3 separate regions of the Homo sapiens genome follow, and regions 1 and 3 are each linked to region 2. The links are contacts of gene promoters, found by promoter capture Hi-C in human tissues and cell types (Jung and others, 2019). All regions are on one chromosome and are shown on one strand. The core of a region is centred on a gene start or on the middle of the fragment in contact, and the rest is flanking DNA. Distances in the headings are between cores, read along the strand shown.

The links. The method cuts DNA at HindIII sites, captures the fragments that hold promoters and counts their contacts. A contact is called where the count stands out against the background at its distance.
Region 1: a contact is called between a fragment that was not itself captured here and the fragment with the promoter of ABAT in region 2, in 1 of the 25 tissues and cell types used here (spleen).
Region 3: a contact is called between a fragment that was not itself captured here and the fragment with the promoter of ABAT in region 2, in 2 of the 25 tissues and cell types used here (lymphoblastoid cells and spleen).

Annotation. Positions count from the first base shown.
Region 1 is chr16:8,947,267-8,952,016 of GRCh38, forward strand. All of the region lies in intron 1 of USP7 (ubiquitin specific peptidase 7), which reads right to left. Among named protein-coding and RNA genes, the nearest start is that of USP7-AS1, 13 kb to the right of the region's middle. RefSeq lists an enhancer at 4,507-4,636. The HindIII fragment of the contact is 4,822 bases long and covers 1-4,521 here.
Region 2 is chr16:8,672,318-8,677,045 of GRCh38, forward strand. ABAT (4-aminobutyrate aminotransferase) reads left to right here and starts at 2,300. Exons shown (of 16, transcript NM_020686.6): 1 at 2,300-2,394. RefSeq lists enhancers at 1,297-1,798, 1,799-2,298 and a silencer at 1,893-2,352. The HindIII fragment of the contact is 24,430 bases long and covers 1-4,728 here.
Region 3 is chr16:9,112,026-9,116,648 of GRCh38, forward strand. All of the region lies in intron 3 of HAPSTR1 (HUWE1 associated protein modifying stress responses), which reads left to right. Among named protein-coding and RNA genes, the nearest start is that of HAPSTR1, 23 kb to the left of the region's middle. RefSeq lists a silencer at 3,287-3,581. The HindIII fragment of the contact is 4,154 bases long and covers 825-4,623 here.

The sequences.
Region 1 (4,750 bases), core at 861-3,360, 270 kb after region 2:
TTTTATACAACATTACTTGGAAAATAATTATTTTTTATACAACATTACCATGTGCTGGTTTATTGTTTTTCCACAGCACTCCCCCCCCCAACACACACACACACAGGGTCTCACTCTTATCACCCAGGCCGAAGTACAGTGGTGCCATCTCGGCTCACTGCAACCTCCACCTCCCAGGTTCAAGCAACTATCCCACATCAGCCTCCTGATTAGCTGGACTACAGACATGCACCACCACACCCAGCTAATTTTTGTATTTTTAGAAAAGACTGGGTTTCACCATGTTGCCCAGGCTCGTCTCGAACTTCCGGCCTCAAGTGATCCACCCGCTTCAGCCTCCCAAAATGCTGGGATTACAGGTGTGCGCTTATTTTTCAATCAATAAACATTTAAGGTTGGCCTTAATTTCTATATGGTAAATAACAGTAGCTATAACCCACCCACCAAAAGCTCTTTAAGGGGTGAAGTCTTTTAGGACTTCGACAGGATCCTGCCATCAAAAACTTAGCTATTCCAGATGTGGGACTGCCTGATGGGTTTGTGCCATGCTGCCTCAGCTAGGTGGGCATGCCATGCCCCTCCCTGCACAGCTCCCACTTTTGAGACCCTCAGTGTGCAATTCGGAAGGTGGGAGTAAAGCAGCTGCCACATGCCATTATGCCTGGGGATTTCTCTGTCTCCAGGGTCTTTAGGCTCCATTACTGCCCTGGAAGCTTGGACATGGTGACAGGCACTTTGGAGCGCAGCACTGCCTGGCTCCCCACTCCCACCCACCACCTCTCGAAGACTGCATGCCCTGCAGACGTCAGTCAGCTCCAGCACCAGACCCAGATGCTAATAGAGCTCCCACCACTGTGGCCTGTAAAATCCCACTAATAAATCCCTGCATCCCTTTCCCACAGTTCCGCTCCCCTGATGGAACCCTCAACTGACCTTGATTCCTCCCTCCCACCAGCCCAGGCTGGAGAATGAGTGGCACCATCTCAGCTCACTGCAGCCTCAACTTCCTGGGCTCAAGCAATCCTCCCACCTCAGCCTCCAGAGTAGCTGGAACTACAAGCACACGCCATCATGGCTGACTAATTTTTGGCATTTTTTTGTAGAGACGAGTTTTCACCATGTTGCCCAGGCTGATCTCAAACCCCTGGGCTCAAGCTATCCACCGGCCTCGGCCTCCCAAAGTGCTGGGATTACAGGTATCAGCTGCCACACCTGGCCCCCAGTTAACTCAACTTAGTAAGTGAAGCATATTCCTAACTGCAAAAAAAGTTCAAATCCCTTTAAAAATACTGACTAAAGCCTATTACAGATGACACAATCCTAAGAACCTGCACATCTCTTTGCTAAATCATGGTGAAGTTCCACACGATGGAATATTATTCTGCGAGAAAAGGGAACGACTACTGGCTACGATGTGGATGAACCTTGAGGATATTAAGCTAAGTAAAAGCAGCCAAAAACAAGCATGGACAACACAACGATAAAAGCAGCCAAAAACAAGCATGGAAAACACAGCGAAACCCCGTCTCTAGAAAAAAAATACAAAACTTAGCCAGGCGTGGTGGCGTGTGCCTGCAGTTCCAGCTACTCGGGAGGCTGATGGGAGAGGATGGCTTTGGCCCAGGAGCTTAAGGCTGCAATGAGCTATGATCAAACCACGGCACTCCAGCCTGGGTGACAAGATCTTGTCTCCCAAAGGGGAAAAAAAAAAGCTTACACAGTCTATGAAATGTCTAGAATAGGCAAATCCATAGATTAGTGGTGACTGCTAATGGGTACAGGATTTCCTTTTGTGGTGATGAAAATGTGCTCGAATTGAATGCTGATAGTCACACAATTGTGAATACTAAAAACCACTGAACCCACTTTAAATGGGTGAATTGTGGTATGTGAATTATCTCTCAATGAAGTTATTTTAAAAATCATGATTGTTACCGAATTTTATCAAAAAGCACAGATGCAAATCTAATCCTTTACAACTGTTACCAAACCAGGTAAAATTAAGGTTAACTGGCATTTAACATCGTGGCACGTTCCACTGGGATTGAAACTGAGACATAAAAATGCAATGCAATTGATTGTTGGGTACTATGTAGGGAAAAACTACTGTTCGAGGCATTGAAAATGCCTGGGGCACAGTCCCTGAACTTTACAACCTCAAAGTCTAGTGGAGAAGAAAAGCAAAGTAACACAACACAACATGGCAATTCCAATACAATGGACATACCCAGGACAGCCTGTGCTTCTATTTTCATCCACCCAGAAGCCTTGCCGCTGCCATCCTTACCTCCAAATCCCCGAGCTCAAGTCCTAAGCCTACTTTAAGGCCCACCACAACACCACCTCTTCACCATGCCTTCCTTCTCTCAGAGTGCAATCTTGTTCTTCAATTTCCAGGCCCCTATCTGCTCACCTCTGTGCATTCATCACCTTCTGCCCTCATTATTTGCTCATATGACCTATCTGAACCCATGCTGGCTTTCCTTACGCAGAGACACCTTATCACTTCATCTCTGCTTCCCCTCCAAGCCCCCAGGGCCTGAAGCAGTGATTACCAGCAAGTATGCCCTAAGCTGAGCTTGGGGAAGCTCCTTCTAAGAAGTTATTACATGAAAATGCTTGGCTTTCCATATTCTAAACCATACTGGTCAAGGAGGTCTAACGGTTGCTATCCCCTAGAATAGCAAAGGAAAACCCCCATTCACAGGCTCTGTCTAAACAGCAGTGCTGTCCCACCAACCATAGAAGCCAGGAGCTGCATGTGGCAACTGAGCGCTTGAAACATGGCTGTTGTGACAGAGGAATTGGTATTATTAATCTTATTCAATTTAATTTTATTTAAATAGCCACATGTACTTATTGAGCACATGAAATATGGCCATGGAGACCAAAAAACCAAATATTTATGTATTTAATTTAATCAACCACATGTGGCTAGTGGCTGCCACAGTGGACAGCGAAGGTCTAGAAATAATGTTATCACTCAGAGCCTTGGTATCTAGGCTTGCAGAGTAGAAGACACAACAGACATTTTCTGCTCTAAAAAAAAAGATGGGACCCAGTGCTCTCTGATAAACACTCAAGATTAAAACAGTATTTTAAGAAAAATAAAAGCCCTTTAATTTCATCAAAAAAGAATTACATTTTAAATAACAGCTTCTGATTTCCAAAGGAAATACTGATCATTAAGAGTAAATGCAGATGTGTGGTGCTAATTCTTCCTCTCCAGACCCCTTACCCCAAGGCAATTAACCCCAACTTGAGAACACTGAAGACTTTGATCACTTGGGCTGGGACAGAGCTTTCAGCAGCACATTTCCCACAGGACTGGGCGCTGACAGAGACAACAGTCTCAGTTACCAACCCAGCCCTGTCTGCCACGAACATGGCACTGCTAATTGTCCAAGATTCAGAAGCTGTATGTGCCTGGCTGCCCTGCATCCTGAAGCTCAACCAGTCACCCGCAGGGCCACATCCCACTGGCGAGGGACCCAAGGGTCACCTGGCTTACATGCATGTCTTCCCCAGGCACTGACCAGCGCACGACAGTGATCTGAGCGGGCACTATTTGTCACTTGTTTCTGCGCACACAGTCACTCCTGACCAAGTTCAATGGGGCCAGAACTTGGGCCTCCTGTCTTATTTTTCCCAAGAGAACCTCATGTACAATTGGTGACCAGTTAAGTAACCATTCAAGCTAAGATCTGTGCACAGACTGAAAAAACTGATCTGATGCAACGTCCCAAGAATTCACAGCTCTTGTGCATTGTGTGAGCAGCAGCGACACGCAGAAAACTAAGATAAAAAAGCCATGTTTATTTCTACTTTCTTCGATCAGTGACTTAACAGGCAAGGCTTAAAGTCAAACCAAGTAAGGATTTCTGTATTTAAAACTGTAGGCTTGCCACTGTTTGACTGCTACAGTCACTTTACAAACTAAATATTGTTTCCAAAGTTGCCTATGAAGATGTACATCATATATATATTTAATCTTTAAAATCTGGCCTCTTAAGTCACCTAATTTCCTTCAACCTCTGCTCAGATAAGGAATCCTGAGCCTCTGGTAGCCCTGACCCAGTTTTCCTTCCACCTTGTGAAAGCTGTCATCTTAAAGAAACTAGGTGATTTAGGCAACAGGAAGGACACCACCCCAACTGGCCAAGGCTCCACAGAGAACACAGCCCGGGGAGCAGGGGGCTCACCCACCTCGCCCTGAGCCAGCCGGATTCATGTGATGAGCTCTGCAGGCTTGGAGAGAGCCCCTGGATATCCTATTTGCTCATCTGTAAATGCAGAGGGCTTGTGGGCATGAGGATGACTGAGGACCTGAGCGCATGAGGCTATACTTAGGTCTAAAATGCTGTAATATCTAACTCTGTACATCTAGAGACCTGGGTATGCTGAGACGCTGTGCACCTGCACCCTGAGCCCTCGCAGACAAGACTCAGGCCTTTTCACATTTAAATCTCTCCATACACTCAGATACATACAGCCCAGCATGGTTTGCTTTAGGAATGATTCATTCAGCTCAGGATCTCATTAAAACTTGTTACTGAACACCTGATTCACAAAGGAAGCAATCTACCAACGTGCGTTATTTTGCTTCATCTCTTTTTATGCCACCAAATGCCACCTGCAGTGTATCAGTGGCCCTGGACTATTCAGGCAGTGGGCTACTTTCTATATTCAAAGCATGTGGGGAACCACACCACAACGTTCAGACTGGGAAGCCCAACTGCAGTTCACGACT
Region 2 (4,728 bases), core at 1,050-3,549:
CAGCTGGAGTACAGTGGTGTAATCTTGGCCCACAGCAGCCTCAACCTCCCAGGCTCAAGGCTGCCTCAGTCTCCTGAGTAGCTGGGACTACATGCATGCGCCACATCGCCCGGATAATTTTTGTATTTTTTGTAGAGACAGGGTTTCACTATGTTACCCAGGCTGGTCTTGAACTCCTTGGCTCAAGCGATCCTCTTGCCTTGGCTTCCCAAAGTGCTGGAATTACAGGCGTGTCACCACACCCAGCCCCATTCAATATTTCATACCTATGTTTATTGTTCAATTTCATGCAACAATTTCCCTCTGAGTCCCTGCTGTTGTGCATTCAAGTTGTTCCCAGTTTTTCCCTGTGATAAACAAAATGGTAGTAAGCTACTTTATCATTAAATCTTTGTACCTTTAAATGTTTTCAGATAAGTTCATAGGGATTGGATTGCTAGATCAAAGGGTCAACTTACTTTTAAGATTTTTAAAATAGAAATACCCAATTTCCCTCCAGAAAGGCTGTGATCTTTCTACTGCCATCATCAATACATGAAACTCCTTGAAGTCTTTGCAAAGAATAGTAATTATAATAATAAAAACAAGGTCATTTTGGTAGGTAAACTCTTTCCCTCTTTTGGTTTTAACTTGCCTTTCCTTTTCAAAGTGTCATCTCCCATGTTTATTGGCCGTTGTATTTCTTTGGGCAGGTCAAGGGTAGTAAAGGGGATTATGTTCATGGCTTTGGTTTTAAGAAAAAATTGCTAGATTTTCAGCACAGGCCTCATCAAGTTCCTCAAGCAAGGTGACAATCACCCAGGCTAGAGTGCAGTGGTGCCATCTCACCTCAGTGCAACCACTGCCTCTCCATTCAAGCGATTCTCATGTCTCAGCCTCCCAGGTAGCTGGGATTACAGGCAGGTGCCACCATGCCAGGCTAATTTTTGTATTTTTAATAGAAAGGGGGTTTCCCCATGATGGCCAGGCTGGTCTCGAGCTCTGGGCATCAAGTGATCTGCCTGCCTCGGCCTCCCAAAGTGCTGGAATTACAGGCGTAAGCCACTGTGCCAGGCCTCAATTATTCTTATTTACTGCTCTGTGTGTGTGTGTGTGTGTGTGTGTGTGTGTGTGTGTGTGTGTTGGGGGGGAGGGTCCCCAGAGGTGACACTAGGAGGTGAATGATTTGTTTGGCAGCTTTCTATTTATCTATGTGTTTACTTTATCTTAATTCTTTAATTGCAAGGACTATAGCGCTTGTGTAATCAGAGATAGGGCAGCCTGGATTCCTGGACAGCAGGAGGAGAGACCTCAGGGTTCTACAAGACTCCACAGACCAAGTTATCAGTGATCAGGGTGAGTGGGGAGAACCAAGCTGAACTCTTTCTCTGCCTTTAAGGTCTGTACTCTCCATCCATCCATTCATTCATTATGAGGACTTGGTGATCGCCTGTTGTCTTGATGAGCAGTTCTTTGTGTCTTTGATTTTGTCACTGAAAGATTGCATCCTCTTTCCAAATACCTCTAGAAAGCTGTGGGGGGGCTATCCATCCGTCACACCTGAGTATTAATTATCTTCCACACAGCATTTTATACAACGGTAGAAAGGCACCTTCATCATATCTAGGGTCTCGTTTATACCCACGAAGGAGGTACAATCTCTGTTGTCCCAATTTCAGGAAATTGAGGATCAGGAGGCGCAGTGACCTGCTCCAGGTCATGCAGAAGGAACCACCTCTGACTCCCAGCGCCCTGTTTGTCTTCCGGAGCGCTGGGGCCAGGCGGAGGAAAGTAGCTGGGAGCAAGAAGGGCTGGCAGGGCCCTGAGCGCCGAGATGGGGAGTGAGGTGGGGAGGGCGGGATGCTCCTTCCCTTCTCCGCAAAGGAACCCCTTCTGATTCCGACTCTGGAGCTCCAGAGACCGGATCCGAGACGCGGGTGGAGGTGGAGTTACACTCGCCTGCAGCCCTGAGGGTGTAAATGGCCCATTAAGATCCAGGTTAAATCAACCTATGGAGCTGCCCCCCAGAGGGTCAGGGTCCCCACAACTTGACGGGGGTCCTCAGCCGTCTCCTCCCCAGTCCCAGGACTCCCTCCCAGCCCTCGCGGTCCCTCTGGTGGGTCCCGCCCCAGCCCCCGTCTCCCCCGCCCCCGGAGGCTGGACTCTGCCCCCGCCCCGCCTGCCACCTCCCTCCTGGGGGCGGTGGCCCGTGGCGGGCGCACCCATTGGCTGTGGCGAAAGCGAGGGCCGGGGCTGGCGGCGCTGATTGGCCGGGACGCTCGGCGGAGCCAGGGAGTCCGGCGAGTCGCTGGGGGAAGTCGAGCAGACACCCAGCGCTGCCGGAACTCGGGGCGCGCATCCCGCAAGTCGGAACCCGGCGGATCGGATCCCGCAGATCGGAGACGGGGCCTGGAGGTGAGCGCGAGGCGCCGGGTGGCTTGGGACGGGCCCTTCCGAGGGGAGCCGAGAGGAGGTCCTTCTGCCCTGCCCCCAGGAGCAAAACCTGGGCATCTTCTCCTGGAAACGGAGCCCTCATCTTCCCAAGACGCGGGGCCCTCCCCCGAAAAGACAGGGGCTCCCACCCCCCAGAGAGCAAAATACCTTCCTTTCTCCTTCAGAAATGGGCCCTTCCTCCTGGCTCCAGCTCTAGACAGAAGTCCTCTCCCTTTTACCGCTTGAAATAGAATGCGGCCCCAAAAAGTGGTCTCCAGGTCTCTAGAGCCCCCTCACCTCTTGGGAGACTGATGCCCCTTCCCCATCCTTAGAAAACTAAGTTTGGGTGTCTTCCTTCTCCCCTCTCTTTCGGAATAATGGGGGTCTTCTCAGCTTATAAATTACAGTGACCTCCCCCTCCATGACAAATGGAAGCTCTCCCCCCATCATAAGACAAGGAAATCCCGGAGCAGAGACTCTGCAAGTCACCCTCCCACCCCAGATACTGGGCTCTGGAGAGATAGATGATTCACCCTTAGCCCTGCCGGAGACCCCTCCCTACCCGTCAGAGAGGCAGGGTGGCCTCTGACACCACCACATTAAAGGCTTTTGGGGATTTCCCCTCTCCTCCCCAGTAAAGATGTAAAATGAGGGACCTTCATACTCAGGAGCAGGGCAAAGGTCTGGCCACCCCTCCAAGTCATCCACCTCCCTCCACTCCACCCAAGCCCTTTCACACAAACCCCATCCTAGTAACCCCCTGCACCATCCTCCCACCGCTCCCAATCCCATCCTTCTCCACCTCACCCCAACTCCACTCCCACACCTGGCTGCCCCACCTATTTCACATCCTCTCACCTTTCCTCACCCACCCTGGCCAAGGTAAGACTAGAGGGGGTTCAGCGAGATTTAGTAAGACTGGAGCTCTTAAAACTGGGATCTGGGGCCTAGAGGCCCTTCCAGGAGTCTTCAAACTCTGACAACAGAGATGGCCTCTGAGGCAGCAGGACCAGCAGAGACCACCCGCCACCTCTCCCCCGCTCCCTGCCCCAACACACGCACAAAGGCTGTGTTCAATGCATTCTCTCTTGCAGTCTGGGAGGACAGCTGGCCCTCTTCCAAGAGGGCCCGCATTTCCCCCCTAAAGTGTGCACCCCCGCAAGCGCCTGTGGACATTGCCTGGTGGAATTCCCTGGGCACTCAGCCAAGAGAAATGGGTGCTGCTGGGCCCATCCACTGGGGAGGAGACAGTGTTGGCTTTGCTGCTTTGATGAAGCTAGACTAAGGGACAGGATGTTGGTGACCTGGGGGTGGGGAGGGGGTGGGAAGAGCTCTTCTCTGGTGGGTCAGGTTGGGAGGCAGGAGAGAGGGAGGCAGTGAGTTGTGTCTTGCTCTTTGGAGCCTGTGTTGCGGCGTGGAGTCATAGAGAAATGTGTTTTCTCGAGGCCCAAAGAGGTTAGCCACGGGGAGAGGTAAATGGTCCAGTCTGGAGTCCTAAGACCTAAAAGGGCTTCTGCATTAAAGACGTGGCCCCTTCATTTGACAGTTAAACACACAGAGGCACAAAAGGGGAAGAGACTTGCTCAAGGTCACCCAGCCTGTGGGAGACAGCTGGCCCCAACCCCTCCAGGACCCTTAAGGTGCTAGGATCCCTGACACAAGCCCCAGTCCTCACATTTACAATGGGGACTTGGGGACTGCTGGGTCCCAAGTCCCCACTTGTCAGAGGAAGCGCCAAGGCTCTGCAAAGGTCATGAAGCCAGGAAGGGGCAGAGCTGGAACTCAATGCCATCCCCCAGCAGGCTGCCTCGTGGAATCCATTCCTGGGTGTCAGCGCATCCCTGCTTACCCCGTGCGATCTTTGTGTTGAGGCCATTGCCAAATCTAGGCTTGCCAAAATCCAAACTGACCCAGGATAGCTAATAAGATCAGTTGCAGCTAATGAGAATGAGATGCTGGAGTGGAGGCTACTGCAGGAACCTCACTTGCATAGCTGGGTTTGCTCCAAGAACTTTGGACAGGTCCTGAGGATGTCATATTCCTTCCCTCCAAGGTCCCCTCCCTCTTAGCCCCTGCCCACGCCCTCTGGCTTTGAGTTCCCTGCACATTGTCTCATCTCTGTTCAGAGGCCTGCGTCTTTTCTCCTGGGGCATTGCATGGGAAAAGAGCTGAAATTCTGGCAGATTCTCTAGGACCACCCAGCTGGGCAGCATGGTCTGAAGTAGAGGCTCTCTCTGTTTCTGCCCCCACCCAGTTCCCAGCTAAAGGATTGGTTGTTGTGCCCCAACTTTGCCAAGGCGAAGTTCAAAGCATGAG
Region 3 (4,623 bases), core at 1,652-4,151, 440 kb after region 2:
GGTGTGACACATGTATCTTTGTAATTGGTTTGATTTAGTGTGCTTTATTTCAATAAAAATTCAGTATTATAATTTACAGATTGGGGTGGGGAGTGGTATCTACTTCAAATTACTGAAATCTTCCTAGTAGAATTCCTTTTTAAATGTTTGAACTCCCCTGGTACATCTTAAACACGACATTGACACTGCAAGTGCTTGGATGTCCTGGCACCTCAGAACACAACTTTGTGCAAAAGGAGTGCTGTGCATCTGAATAGTGCAATTCATTTCCAATGCAAGAATGCCAGTTTCTTAGGGCCCCCGGTCAGGATATTACCCACTTGGTTTAAGTTGTGATTTCAAATCCCATTTTCTATGGGAGATACACTGGTGGAACAAATCTGCAGAGGGCCCTGCACCTGCGCTGGTGGATCAACGGTGTCTTCTCACCTCCAGGGCTAGCTGCCTTGCCTTCCCTCGTGGGGCTTAAGTGGCTGGGAAGCAGATAGACAGTGTAGATGAAGTCCTGGGCCACTGGCTGCTGGACTGAGGCAGTGAGATGACTGGGCTGGCATTTGTTCTTTCTCTGCCTGTGTGTGACCTCTAACTATGTGCCTGGAAACTGAATTACATGTAATTAATGCTGCAAACAGGATTTTCTTATTGCCTAAGCATGAACTTGGTATGAAAATAATAGTTAATAATTTACTATGTAACTTGGATTCTTATAACCTGGACTGTAAGTTTGTTTTAGCTCCAGTGGGAGTTTCCTTTTCAAAGTATGATGAAACCATCCTCATCTTTTCTACCCCTGGACTAATCATTTAAAATGGATACAGACACTTTAAAACTGCTGAGTTTATCTTGTGTTAAGCAATTAAGACTTCTCTGTCTAATCATGCTACTTGTTCTGCTTTTGTCAATTGATACTCTCATAGCCCTTTTGAAAAAGTATGTTTTTGTAGAAATTAAGTTGTATGCCCTCAGGACGTACAACTTGGTTTTTTTTTTTTGTTTTTTTTGTTTTTTTTTGTTTTTTTTTTAGTTCTGAAGCATGTTTAGATTTTTCTGTACTTGTATAGGTCTGATTGTTTATGTGGCTTAGCTAAGGTTTCCTAAAGCATCTTCTAGTAGCTGTCATTGGTTTGTAAAATAAAATTTGGGCTGTCAAAATGCACATTTTTTGGTTGTTAATCTTAATTATTTTTGACCCTTGTGAAAAGTCTTTTTGGGGAAGATTAGGTAGGCAGACTTTGAAAATATTTTCACTGCTATGAGAGTCAGTCATAGATCATATTGCACATTAAAGTTATCAAGATAAACACCCAGGTCATACACCCAGTAGAAAAAGATGATTTCCCAGAAGCTGTTAGAATTTTCAGATTGACCAAATTGATGTTTAACACATCTTCTTTTTCATGGAGAATGGCAGCTGAAACAATAAGGAACATTTGCTTGAAATCCCTAGTCCACTTCTGATACAGTGTTTTGAGCCTTCCATATTTGTTGTTAGGTATTAAACGTGCTGCCATGAGACTCCTATGTTAACAAGGGCATTAGGGTGGGGTTTGTTGAATTCTTTTTATAATTTGAAATGATAAAGGGGATCTTGATTTTAATTATTGAAGTAGCCCAGTTTATTGCTGAACGTGCCCATATTTTGCCATAATAATTACCTTTTGGATTATGAAACAAGTACGAAAGGTTATCTTTGAAGAACATGGGCACCTTGTAATATGTTACAGGCTGAGACACTAGGATGAAAGAAGGCACATCTCTCCCCTCAAGTTTAGTCTTGCGGTAGAACTTTAAAAAAAAGCCAACAATGGGGATAATTGAGTTTTAAACTTGATGGCAATGATTTAAGTGAAGAGAACACCTGGGTTTATTTTCTGGTGTTGGAGAGGTGAATAAACATCAACAGTTGAACCTTTGATTTCAGTGGATTTCAACATGAGGGGGTAGGACTTTGAAGTATTATTCTTTTTCAGAATTCGTAAGTGCCAGGCACTGTGCTTAGGTCATTAGATGGAGATGAAAAGATATTTTCTATAGGAAGAGACGGTTGATTGTACCATGCTGTAGAAAGATAGCTCAAGATTTTTTTTTGGTTTATTTTGTTTTTTAAAAGTAAGCTTGTGCCGGTTGGGGAAGAGGAAGTGAAGTTCCTTTTTGATGGTGTTGAGTTTGAGATGTCCAGTAGGCAGTTAGAAATCTGGGAGGGCCGTTGAGCTCATTAGTCTAGTTTTGGGAAACGTGTGTGGGTAAGGTAGGGGTTGAGGATATCACCCAGGGTGACACCAGCCTTTCAGGGGCAGAAGGGAACCCCACCAAGGCGACTGAGGAGTGAGCGGAGAGTTTCAATTTCAAGGAGGGGGAAAGAGGAGCCAGCAGGAAACTAAAATGGAGAGGTAGGAGAACCAGGGAAGGAGCCTCATAAGGGAGGTGCTGGGGAACAGGTGGGCTCACTCAGGGAGTGAATGTTGGGAGAGACAGACATTTGCAAATGTTGGAAGAGACAGATAGTTGCAGGCCTCACTATTTCAGAGAGCTGCAAATTGCATGATGTTGGTAGTCGGGATACGGTCTAAGGGTGAAGTGAAGAGAGCAGGAAGGGAAGAGAGAGAAACTGTTCAAAGAGATGAGGCCTAAGAGGCAGGCTGGCCCTAGGACCAACCTGAAGCCACCTTTTTGCTAAAATACTCTAGGCTTGGAAGAGGATCAGAATAACTGAATAGGAATATAGATTACACTTGGGTGGGAGTGCCAGCTCTTGTTTACTACCTGTTGACCTTGGATGAATTAACTTTTAAACTTGGGTTTTCACCTGCAGAATGGAGATATTATAGGTGTCATAGGAAGTAATTGACATAGTACCTGACACAGGAAGTATTCTCATGTTAATGCTTCTATTTTTTAATAGGTGCTAGCCTTGGAAAGGTTGAGAGGCTGAAGAGGGACAGTTTGATTTCCTCTGACCACCAGCAGGAGGGGAGGATGTGTCTTCTGCAGGGAGAGCAGCCAGGGGGATTGGTTGGATCAGTGCAGAAAGGAATGGGGGCACCTAGAGTGCGGAGTTGAGCACCTCAGAAGGGAGGTGTGGCCCTCAGGACATTGTCAGCATGTGCGATGATAGTGGAGGCCATGGATTTGAGAACATTTCAGAGAATATTTGATGGAGGGGAACGCCAAGGGGAATGTAATAGATTTGTGATAGGAGGCAGAGACTTTTCAACTTAAAATTCAAATTTAAACTACATTTTTAGGGAGTTCATGATTAGAAAGAATGGGCCCCTGTCAAATGAAACCTCTAAGCTTACTTGAAAATCTTATAAGTCCTATTCTTTGAAAATTAATTGATAGTCAAGCAATAACAGATCCCTAGGTGAGGAGAGAATAGTGGAAGGGGAAATTCCTAAGGCAGAAGATCACTGCCAGTGACGGTAGGTTTTTAAAAATGCAACACTGTGTTTGGTGTTTCCTGGCCTGACTCATACCTTTCACAGGTTTATCCTGAATGTTTAGGAGTGGAATGTAAGTTTGGCTCTTTAACTGTGTAAGAGTTTAAGGAAAGGAATAAGTATCCATGAGTGCTGGGTATATTCTGGATTCAGTAAAGTAACTCTTTTGTTTTTGAGACGGAGTTTCGCTCTTGTCACCCAGGATGGAGTGCAGTCTCGGTTCTTTGCAACCACCGCCTCCCGGGTTCAAGCGATTCTCCTCCTTAGCCTCCCGAGTAGCTGGGATTACAGGCGCCTGCCACCACGCCGGGCTAATTTTTGTATTTTTTAGTAGAGACGAGTTTTCACCATGTTGGCCAGGCTGGTCATGAACTCCTGACCTGAAGAGATCTGCCCGGCCTCCCAAAGTGCTGGGATTACAGGTGTGAGCCACTGCGCCTGGCCTTGGATTCAGTAACTCTTAATGTTGAAAACAAAGCAGCAGGATTCTTCACAACCCTCTCCCCTCCCCACTTCCATGAAGGATTAGAGAGGCTCATGATTGAGGCTGTCCTGAAGGATATCTACCAAATACATTCCAGACCTTAGGTGATCACATAGCCTGATTTGTCCAGGGTAGACTGACTTTGTACCTCATGTCCCAGTAGAAATTTTAACAGTGACTCTTTTCGGGCTCAACAGTAATCTGTTTTGGATGGCAAGTTATGTGATCACCTTATCTAGAGGGGATGTTGGAACAAGCCCACCTAGGCCTGGAAGTGATTTCTGGCTCTCCTGAATACATCACACACATACACACTCATCAGAGGGGTCTGTTGGAATGGTAACTTTGGGTAACCAAAAATGTCTTGTCTTTAAAGCAAATGTCTCCTGTCCTTATCTGTAAATTTTGTGCAGTACCTACCTCATAGATGGGAGAATTTAATGAGATATTTGTACACCTAGCACGGTGGTTGACACGTAGTAACTTTTAGTAATTGGTAGTTACCAATATTGTAGATATTGGTAGTATTACCAATAAAATATATGTCAAGGCCAGATGATATGTTTATCCAGAATAAAACTTAATTGCTTACTAGTAATCCCTTATAAAGGAAATAGGCAGACATGCTTTGACATTGTGACAACATGGAAAGTAAGTGGGTTGCTTTCAAAAGGGTTACATAATTGAGCAACTCTAAAA